Linked DNA regions of Homo sapiens: region 2 is linked to region 1. The links are contacts of gene promoters, found by promoter capture Hi-C in blood cells and fetal thymus (Javierre and others, 2016). All regions are on one chromosome and are shown on one strand. Each heading gives the region's core, a stretch centred on a gene start or on the middle of the fragment in contact. The rest is flanking DNA. Distances are from core to core; before and after follow the strand shown.

What was found. The method cuts DNA at HindIII sites, captures the fragments that hold promoters and counts their contacts. A CHiCAGO score of 5 or more calls a contact.
Region 2: a contact is called between a fragment that was not itself captured here and the fragment with the promoter of ARID3B in region 1, in 11 of 17 cell types (megakaryocytes, erythroblasts, fetal thymus and 8 more). The highest score is 8.9, in megakaryocytes.

The regions. Positions count from the first base shown.
Region 1 is chr15:74,539,071-74,544,356 of GRCh38, forward strand. It overlaps ARID3B (AT-rich interaction domain 3B), which reads left to right and starts at 2,150. Exons shown (of 9, transcript NM_006465.4): 1 at 2,150-2,260; 2 at 4,790-5,286. The coding sequence starts at 4,867. LOC124903528 (a long non-coding RNA gene) reads right to left here and starts at 2,018. Exons shown (of 2, transcript XR_007064719.1): 1 at 1,828-2,018. RefSeq lists enhancers at 1,406-1,535, 1,470-2,011, 1,586-1,735, 3,086-3,145 and silencers at 2,036-2,395, 2,912-3,096. The HindIII fragment of the contact is 12,648 bases long and covers 1-4,216 here.
Region 2 is chr15:74,370,402-74,375,687 of GRCh38, forward strand. It overlaps LOC124903524 (a long non-coding RNA gene), which reads left to right. Exons shown (of 2, transcript XR_007064709.1): 2 at 1-811. Among named protein-coding and RNA genes, the nearest start is that of CYP11A1, 5.4 kb to the left of the region's middle. RefSeq lists silencers at 3,425-3,474, 4,075-4,134 and enhancers at 3,735-3,784, 4,266-4,813, 5,141-5,190. The HindIII fragment of the contact is 3,316 bases long and covers 1-2,908 here.

The DNA of each region.
Region 1 (5,286 bases), core at 900-3,399:
GACTCCCAAAGTGCTGGGATTACAGGCATGAGCCATCGTGCTCGGCCTCAACAGGACAATTTTTTTGTTTTTGAGATGAAATCTTGCTCTGTCACCCAGACTGGAGTGCAGTGGCGTGATCTCGGCTAACTGCAACCTCCGCCGTCCAGGTTCAAGCGATTCTTCTGCCTCAGCCTCCCCAGTAGCTGGGACTACAGGCATGCGCCACCACACCCAGCTAATTTTTGTATTTTTAGTAGAGACGGGGTTTCACCATATTGGCCAGGCTGGTTTCTAACTCCTGACCTCGTGATCCGCCCACCTCGGCCTCCCAAAGTGTTGGGATTACAGGCATGAGCCACCACGCCCAGCAACAGGACAACTTTCTATGACAAGGTACAAGCAAGGAGAAACACATAGGTCCATCCAGGGTGAGGGATTTCGTTGGGGAAAAAGGAGTGTTGTGGTGGGATTAAGATTAAGTAGGGGCAGGACTGTATTAATGTACCACTGAATCTAAAATGGATAAGGAAGGAAGTGAAGAGGGGATTAATGTATAAGAGATAAAGTAGAGGCTTTCAACCGATTAGATGCTCTGCTCTGATAAAGTGAAAGAACAGGCCGGGTGCAGTGGCTTACGCCTGTAATCCCAGCACTATGGGAGGCCGAGGCGAGCGGATCACCTGAGTTCAGGACTTCGAGACCAGCCTGGCCAACATGGCGAAACCTGTCTCTACTAAAAATGCAAAAATTAGCTGGCTTGGTGGCGCACACCTGTAATCCTAGCTACTCGAGAGGCTGAGGCAGTAGAATTGCTTGAACCCAGGAGGCGGAGGTTGCAGTGAGCTGAGGTTGCGCCACTGCACTCCAGCCTGGGCGACAGAGCAAGACTCCTTCTAAAAAAAAAAAGTGAAATAACAGTAATAACAGTTATGCTGTAATTCTATTTTTTTTGGGGGGGGGGAACAGTGTCTCTGTCACCCAGGCTGGAGTGCAGTGGCACAATCATGGCTCACTGCAACCTCCGCCTCTCCTGGGCTCAGGTGATCTCCCACCTCAGCCTTCCGAGTAGATGGGACCACAGGCATGCGCCAAAACGCCTCATTAAACTTTGTATTTTTTGTAGAGATGGGGTATCGCCTTGTTGCCCAGGCTGCTCTCCAACTACTGGGCCCAAGAGATTCGCCTGCCTCAGCCTTCCAAAGTGCTGAAATTACAGGCGTGAGCTACTGCATCAGGCCTATAATTCAAAAGTAGTCAAGCTGAGAGAATAGCAGGCTGTGGTTGAAAAGAGGGTTGTTCAAATTACTGAGTCGTGACGCGATAGCGTTTGGAGGGACAAGGTCCAGGTTTTAACTGGGATTGGGAGGCTGATATAAGGGTCGCTAAAGACGAGGCCCGATGTTGAATGGGTTGGCCACATAGGCTCTGAAATTATCAAAGATGGTCAGACGGGAGACAGACAAGGAGCTGGATACACAGATCGGCAGATTATCTCCAAACGGGGTGAAGTAGGTGACAGAGTCTAAGGGGAAGGGCTGAAGAAGCAAGTGTTTTTACAAGAGGTGACAGCACCTGGCACATAATCCCGACCTCTGCAAACTGAGACCTGAGAATACTAATTCATGTGAGAAAGTTTCAAGGGACGCAACATTCTCGGGACAGCCAGGTCTCTGTCCCAGGAAGGAGCGGAGAAGTTTAGAGACAAGCTGATCTAAACACGAGAACCTCTGAGGAAGACCGGCTTGAAGGCAGGAGATTGAGGAGGGGACCGAAGCGACGGCAAACCCTACACTCCTCTGCTCTTTAGTTACTTTCCTCCCAGCCAACCGCCCAAGCCACACCAACCTCCGCAATAGAAAACGCTCGGAGAACACGATCTCCCGCCCAGCTCTTTTCAACTCCCCGCGGAAGTGCTCACACCGGAACCCCTCTGTGTCCGCACTTTGCCATTGGCCGAGGCTTCCGCCCGCTTCCATTCGCTTCCTCCCACAACTCAGTCGGGCTGCGCGGTCCGTAGGAGTCACTTCCGCCTCGTCCCACCCCGCCCCCCGGTCCCTTTCTAGCAGCTTCCGGCTTCGGTCCCGCCCCGCCCCCTGTGGCCCCGCCCCGCCCCCGCCCCCGCCCCTGGCTGGCGGTCCAGCCCCGCGGCGCCGCTTCCGGTGCGGGCCCCGCCCCGGCTGTGGCCCCCGGCTGCGGAGGAGTCCGAGACGCAGCTGCCGCGCCGGGGCCTGAGCTGCCGCCTCCTCCGCCGCCCGAAAACCCGGAGTGCCCCGCACAGGTAAGTGGCCCGGGTCCGGGCTCCCTCAGGCATGGCGGGAGAGGAGGCTGCGACAGGTGGAGGGGCCGAGGCCAGGAGCCGAGGCAGGTGTAGAGAGAGAGGGGAATGCGCGAGTCGGGGGCGCGGGGACCGCGAAGGAAAGTGAGAGCGCCGCGGGAGCCCCGAGCGCCCTGTGCCCATTAGGGCATTTGAGATAAAGCGTTTGAGATAAAGCGATGAGAAGGGTGAGGGGCCCTGGAGCTGAGTGGGCGCGCAGATAGGTGGGGCGGGGGCCATCGGAAGAGCCAGCGGATTGGCTGGGAGGGTTGGTAGAGGTAAAAATGATAGGGCTGAATGGGGGGAGGTGAATAAAGAATGGGGGGAGGCGTGCAGGGGTGACCGGGAAGGTGGGCTGTGGGGCTTACAGGGGCCCGGGGCCAAAAGAATCCGGCAGCAAAAGCAGGGGAATGGTCAGCAGGCCGGGTTCAAAGCTGCAGGTAGTCCGTTGTACCCGGCTTGGTGGTCCGGGAACTTTAGGGGAAATGGGGGAGGGGCCCGTGTGAAGGGATGAAGAGGTTTAGATTTGAGACATAAGTTCTCCAAATGTAGGCAGGTGGCATTGTTTGGATCGCTGGCTGCTTAGGGACTGCGGGAAAATGGGCTCTTTGGGGGAGGGTGTGTGTATTGAGTTGTAGAACTGAGTCATCTCAGTCTTACTATAAGAGGCTGTGGGAGGGACACCTCCCCCTCTGCTGGGGACAGCATTCAGAGAAGATGGTGCCACAAGACAAGAAGCAGTTGTTCAGTGACTGGCAGGACTTGGTTGAGAAGTTATTCCGATCGTGATTGATTGACTGTAATGACTATGAGGACATTTAAAATGAACACCGAATTATTTGCTTTATTCTGTAATTTTCTTTGACCCAAATTGTTTTCATTTTAAATGAACACTTTTGCCAACTGAATTTAATGTGGATGTAAATCTTGTCATGCTTTTTTACACTGTAAGAAGAGCTAAAGCAGAATGAAAGTATTGCTGCAAGCGTAACTCACACTTTCTGAAGTGCCAAGAGAGGAAGTAAAGGCAGTAAGAGGCAAATTGGAATGCGAATCTTTCACAGAACACAAAAGGCACAAACAGGGCTATAAGATAAACAGAAAATGAGAATTTTTAATCTCTACTAATTGGCCTAGCTTTAAAAATTGTACCCTTTTTTACTCTAACCTGGAAAAAATCTTAAATCCAAGCAGTTTTTATTGCTGAAGATGTGATTACTTCTCCGTGAATTTTTGAAGATACTAAAGACACTTTGTTTTTTGTCTTTCGACCCAATCCTAAAACACTGGAACAATGCAGATATCAAGTCCCAACATGTGCAGTGCAGCTTCTTTCATGTGATGACAAAATTGTACGCCATGTTGCAAGTCCTGTTCACCTAAAATTGCCCTTGCATAGTAATCCATTCAGTTATGGAGACTTGCTGAAGAAACATAACTCAAGTGAAGTTTGTTGGGGGTGAGGGCCTGCAGGGGAGAGGTGGGGGAGTAAAAGGAGAAGAGGGTGTGAAAGTGATGTGTGTTTGGAGACTGATTGGTAAGAATGCAGATAAACCTGCCCCCAGAATGCTTTTGGCCCGAAAGACTTTTCTTTTTGTGTTTGTCAGAGAATATCATAATAGAAATGAATCAGAAAGAAAGGGGATGTGAAGAGATTTACTTCGCTGTTTATAAAAAAGAAGCAGCATTAACTTGTTGTTCAGACAATGTTGATATCTGTTTCAAATTAATTAACTTTAAAATCTCCAGAGGAATTCCCCCGTTTGCTTTTGAGTGACGATTGCAATTTGAGACTCTTGCCTCCTTGCGTGTTTCTTTCATGTTGTTGAAATTGGATTCTTTTTGAGGCTATAATGTCCAGTTAGTATGGCTCAGTCCACTCAACAAGCAGGCTGGCAATTTGATCAGGGAAATTTGAAAAGCTTAGACCCAAGAGCAGCTTGCTTGGTCTTGCTTTTTCTATGAGAGTAAAACTGTCTGCCTGATAGTTCTGTGTCTAGCTTAGAGGTGATATCTTTCTCCTGTGGGCTTGGGAACATACTCTCTCCTTTGCAGGCAGGTCCTTCTTTTCCTTTATTATTGTTGTTTGCATAATTATGCTTCTGCTACAGTGCAAACCCAGTTACCTTTTCAGTAATTAATGTTCAGTAACATTAGTTCAGTAACAGATTAATGTTTGATAATGTAGAGGAAGAGAGATCAGAACACGTTAGCAGACTAGATATTGGCTGGATGTACTTCTTTTAAAGCCTGCTACTACTACTGAAATTCATTCCCTATTTCCCCTCTTAGATCCTGTTTCTCTTCTTCACACCTTTTCCTACCCACCCACGAAACCCCCACCACTCACTCATCTTAAAACTCAGGTTTAGGAGCATATGTTTAGCGTTCGGAACTCATGGCCCTCTACTGGAGAAAAGGAAACCTTTTTATACCTGCTTAACATGGTTGTTTTTTCCCCCTCCTTCTTTGTGGTTTCTGTTAATCACTAAGGTTTAGACCCAGTGTGCCTGGTGGGCTGTGCCCAGGTTCAGAGTCATGCCACTCTGTGGGTGAAGCTTGAGGCAAAAATGGAGCCACTTCAGCAGCAGCAGCAGCAGCAGCAGCAACAACAGAAGCAGCCACACCTGGCTCCTCTGCAGATGGATGCCAGAGAGAAGCAGGGCCAGCAGATGAGAGAAGCCCAGTTCTTGTATGCCCAAAAGCTGGTCACACAGCCGACTCTCCTTTCCGCCACAGCTGGGAGACCTTCTGGCAGCACTCCCTTAGGTCCCTTAGCCAGAGTTCCACCCACCGCAGCAGTGGCCCAAGTGTTTGAACGGGGCAACATGAACTCAGAGCCTGAGGAAGAGGACGGAGGTTTGGAAGATGAGGATGGGGATGATGAAGTTGCAGAGGTGGCTGAGAAAGAAACCCAGGCTGCTTCAAAATATTTTCATGTGCAGAAAGTAGCTCGCCAAGATCCCAGAGTGGCACCCATGTCCAATCTA
Region 2 (5,286 bases), core at 1-2,500, 170 kb before region 1:
TTCTCAGAGTAGAGGGTGTACACATTTAGACCCATCTAAACGTTGCCTAGGACGGGGAACATGATTTTATTCATTGCAGGCAGCTTGGATGGATAAACAGAAAATCCAAATCACAGACTTAAAGAAGATAGAAGTGTATTCTCTCTCCCATAAAGGATGTCCAAGGCTGGGCAGTCCAGGGTGAGTGTGTCAGTCCCAGCAAAATGCCAGGCTCCATCTTCCTGCTTCACCACGAAGACATTTGGTTGGCATTTCTAAGGCCACCCGATGGTCCAAGCTGCTGCTGGAGCATTAACCGTGTTGCTGGCCAGAAGGCGGAAGAACTCAAGAAGACCAAAAGGGGCCCTCCCTGAAGAGCCAGCTTCATTTAAGCCCCTTCCTCAAAGTCCCACACGAGTCCAACCATATCTGATTGGTGGGAACTTAACCACATTGAGGCAGGAGAATAGGGAATTAGGGCAACCAAGGATTAAGGTAGGAACAAAAGAAGAGCAGGTGCAGCCAGTTCACATAAGCAAAAGGCACAGCAGGTACAGCCAATTCTAGGCAGGATTAGGCAACATACAGGCCACATCTTCACTTCTGTGATAACCACAGGCCAAGTCGCCACTTAAGCCTCTAATTGGTCACGGATCAATCCTTCATTGGATGTAACTGATTGGAGGCCTCTGGAGGGCACCGGGGGTGTTCATGTTCTTTAGCTTAATAAAATCTCTAATTGAAGGGGCTCCTGAGCCACTTGCTCAAGCCCACTCTTGCTCTGTGAATTGTACTTGCACATCTTCAATAAATCTGTGCCTTCATTACTCCATTCTTTCGTTGCTTTGTCTTTTGTTGCTTTGTGCGTTTTGTTCAATTCTTTAACATGCCAAGAACCTGGACAACTCAGTCAAGACCTTCCATTCAGTAACCACATGACTGTACCTAGGTACAGGGAGGTAGGTACAGGGAGGCTGGACAATGTCGTTTTGCTCTGGATGGCAATACATCCGCTAGCAGAGGTGCTGGCCAGACCATAGACATAATAATACAGTTTTGTATCATGAAACAAGCAACGGTTTTGGAGCCACATGGACTCAGGTTCAAATCCTAGTTCAACCACTGAGTGGTCGCGTGGCATAGGGCAAGACACTTGAGCTACTTGAGACTTAATTTTTTCATATTTAAAATGGAGATAATCAGACCTGCCTCTCAGAGCTGTTGCAAGATAAAAAAAAGCACTTAAAAGATTCAGAGGTTCTCAAAGTAGCCCACCTAATATCATTGCCTTAAACATCACCCTCTTGCTCAGCTTAGGGTATGGACACCATACATGAAAATTAGGTGATTCTTTCCCTGTTTGTTTTCACATGCACAGCTCAGGGTATTTCACTAAGTCAGATGGTCCCCCCGACTCCACCCTATTTCTTTCTCTGAGGGCATTTCATCTGTTTCGGTGTCACCCCACTCTAACAGTTTAAAGGGAGGAGGGAGAGGCAAGGACCTAAGATGTTTGGAGAGAAATCAGCCCTAGAGATGGGACTCAAGGTTATGGCATTTCTCAGCTTAAGTATCAGATGTGGCTGTTAAAACTATTATTAAATAGATTCCTTTTGCTGTTTGGGGTTTTTCCTGTTTGTTTGTTTGTTTGGCCTTGGGAGGGGTCATGTGGCCATATGGTAAAGAGACATTCCCAAGGAAGGAATGAAACACATTGTTCCTGCCCGGGCCAGGGCTTATGTAGTCAGGGATTATGAAGACTGAATGTTCTGTGTCCTGGAGGAAAGGGGTCCCTGCTTTGGGGACTGTTTCTTTTTATGGATCCTGGGCTATTCCTTCTGTCCAACAAGAGTGAAATGAAGGGAAATACGGGACAGAGTTGACATAGCTTTAGGGGCAGGAGTAATTGGGGTAAAGGAGGGGAGAAGACTGGACCCAGAAGTCAAAGGCCCAGAGCCCCCGGCAAAGGAGTGTTGCCAGGTTGGGAGCCTCTGCAAAGGGCATCTCTGAGGGCTGTTCCTAGGGGCCCACCCATTGCAGCCCTCCTATGAGAACTTAACTCCACATGGTGAACTGGAACCTGAGCCCTAATCTTAGCTACCCAGGGCAGCCTCTCCCTGCTCCTCTAAATCCTCATCACTCCTGTAAGTCCAGAGGAACCCCCACACCCCAACTTGAAGGGTGAATGAGTACCCAGGCACTCCCTGCCTGGGTGCACACTGTGGCTCCTTGTCCCCCTCTATACATTGCCCAGGCTGGCTTTGAACTCCTGGGCTCAAGCAATTCTCCTGGCTCGGCCTCCTGAGTAGCTGGGAATACAGGCGCGTGCCACCGCGTTCAGCTTCATTTTTATTTTTACAGCTTCACTTCACTTCCTCAGTGCAAACATGTTAAAATATTAAAAATTTGCTGTAAAGTTTTTGAAAGGATATTTATAATTTTGCTCTTGAAACCATTTGGCTAGGAGTGACTGATTTAAATTACAATTGGGAATTCTTGTGAAATGAGAAAAACCTAGCCCACACATTCTTTCAGATGTAATGAAATTTTTATGAATACTAAATTTAACAGTTAATGAGGTTGATATAATGTTACAGTTGGACACTTGATTAAGAATTTATTGATTTCCATTTTGCAGTGTTCTTATTTGAGAGCCAATCATTTTTTCTTCAGCTGTGAAATATTCACATGGGCCCTTGGGAGGCCCCCGCTGCGGGCTTCTCTAGCGGGCAGTACATAAGTAACCAGGCCAACAGCTCTTCCCTGTCCTCCCCCTGACACACCTCGCACCCCTTTACACAGGCACATAAGGAAAAACACCCATCGTGGCTGGACCATGGAGACAGAGTCCAGTTCCAGAGGAGGAAGAGGATGGGGCCAGTCAGACAAGGGCACAGAAGCCATGCCATGCCATGTCATGTAAGCAAGAAGCTTCTTACTGCAACCAGTGGCTGGGGCTGCTAAGGGCACTAAGATTCAAGACCAGTGAGCCACGGAGGTTGGCATGGGCACCTCTTCCCTCCTGGGGACAGTAGGTAGTGGGGGCAGGAGGGGAAGGGCCACCTGCCTGGTTTACATAGTCGGCCACAGAGCGGTGGCCCACACTTATTCGACGACTATAGCCTCAGTGTTCCAGGCAGGTGTGCATGGGGCCAGCGGGCTATGAGAGGCTTCCACGTGGCACAAGGACAGCACCCCACAAGGAGAACATGAAAAAGCTAACACAGTAGCACAGGCAAGTGCACAGTACCCCAGCCTCCCCTCGGAACCAGAGGGCGGAGTGGACTGAGGCCACCCTCAGCCAGGTCTGCGGCAGAAGCTGAGGCAGAGAAATGCCACTTTGTCCTTGCTCCAGTCTCTCTCTCAGCCATTCAGATACCGCTTCCTTCACTCCAGAGCCTCAGCCGGCGCCTCTCAGATCAAACCTTGTGCCACTAGGTGGAGCCAAAGCCCACAGCAACAGCGCCGGGCTCGGACACCCAGCCGCCCGCGTGCAGGAAGGAGGTGGGCTCGCGAGGCAGGGGACTGGGGGCCCCGGGCTGAGTCTGGGCCCTACCGGGGGGCCAGGAAAGGAGTGGGAGAGCCAGCCACAGCCCACAGTGGACTTATTTGGTTTACATGGTCCGTTCCGTCCGAACTCGCACTGTAGGCTAAATGGTCCCAGAGCCAACCCCGGCAGCCGCAAATCCCCGTTTGTCAGATAAGGAGGCTGAGGGCCTGAGGGGAGGATCCAGGAGAGCCAGAACAGGGCTGAAGCCAGAGCCCGCGCCCCTGTCCACAGAGCCTTCCCCTGCACCGCTTCCGGGATGTATCCCCTGCCCGTGGGGAGGGCGCACGAGAAGAAGGTGCGGCTTCCAGAAGGGAGATCCTGGGAACGAGGCCGGGAGACACGCTTGGCTCCGGAGCCTAGGACTGGCTCCGGGGCACGAGCCGCAGTCCCCTCCAGCACCTCCTGGTGGGGGCCGCAGCTGGGATGCTGGCTTCGGGCGCCGGCGGCCGGAGCAGCGGAAAGCATCCACCTACAGAGGCTGCGGTGGAGGGGGCGGGGCGGGCGCGGACCCGGAGGCGCCGCATTGGACGAGGGGGTTGCTGGGGTTCTCGGATTGGCTGGCCATGAGGGGGCGGGACCAAGGCCAGGGCTGAGAGGCGTGAGGACCTGGAGCGTGAACGCGTGGGGAAGGCGCAGAGACCTGGCGCAGGTGTTGCGGAGCCTTCTGAGACTGGCCTAAGCTGCAGAATTGATCGAGCATCTGGAGTGGCCATCGGCCGTGTTGCCCGCAGACACAGGTGTGCTGCGACAGACCAAGCTCCAGGGTCCCTCAGGTAGCCAGGTGTGCGGCACAGCTTTGTCCCTCCCAGAACTCAGTTTCCCCAGCAGGGGGCCCGGGGACTATTCCAATCCAGTACTCTGGCCTGCCCCTCCCCTCGCTCTCACTGACCTCCCAGCAGCCAGACCAGGTAGGTATCCAGGCTCCTTCCTATCCTGCCCCCTGCCCCGCTCCATCCTCATCTTTCCCTTAAAGAAACCTCTCTCCAAGGTCCACGGTTACATCACATACAGCTTTGCACACCCAGTGCCCAGCACAGAACCCCCACCCTCTGTGGTTGTCCTTTCGCTTCTCGCAAGGTCCATGGGAGCAGGGGACCAGGCTGGGACAACATGTGGCCCCACCTGGTTGCTATAAAAGCTCAGGTAAGGAAGTTTACAGAAATATGTTGGGGTTACTGCACCTGTAAAAAGTGAAAATGGCCAATTATCATCAATGTCAAGAAGAAAAATTGCCCTTGTTGCCCTTTCACTGTAGTAAAGTGCTGCTTCCAACAAACCAGCACACAAATGCCAACCACAGGTGCATTCCGCTTGGGAGGATGGGGGAGAAACTAGTTGTTTGACTCTGTACAAGAACCAATCACCAGGTTTCCTTAAATGGCACACTTTCTTTGAAATCTGAAGCAAGAAATTACCTCTCCGGACACAACCAAGTTCATCTCGTGTCCTCTCAGGACATACAGCCGGGCTCCACTAGAGGGCAGCAGAAAGATGGAGATGCTCGAGAGAAAAGGAGACTTAAGTTAGTTCTCACCATCCGTGGAGGGTGTGAGGAACCCAATAAAAACCGTACTGGTATTAGTTCCTATTTGTTGACTGGTTACTCTAGGCCAGCCATCCCTCTGACTGATCTGTTAAAAAAAAAAATTAAGTAATTTGGGCCGGACGTGGTGGCTCATGCCTGTAATCCCAACACTTTGGGAGGCCGAGGTGGGTGGATCACCTGAGGTCAGCAGTTCAAGACTAGCCTGGCCAAC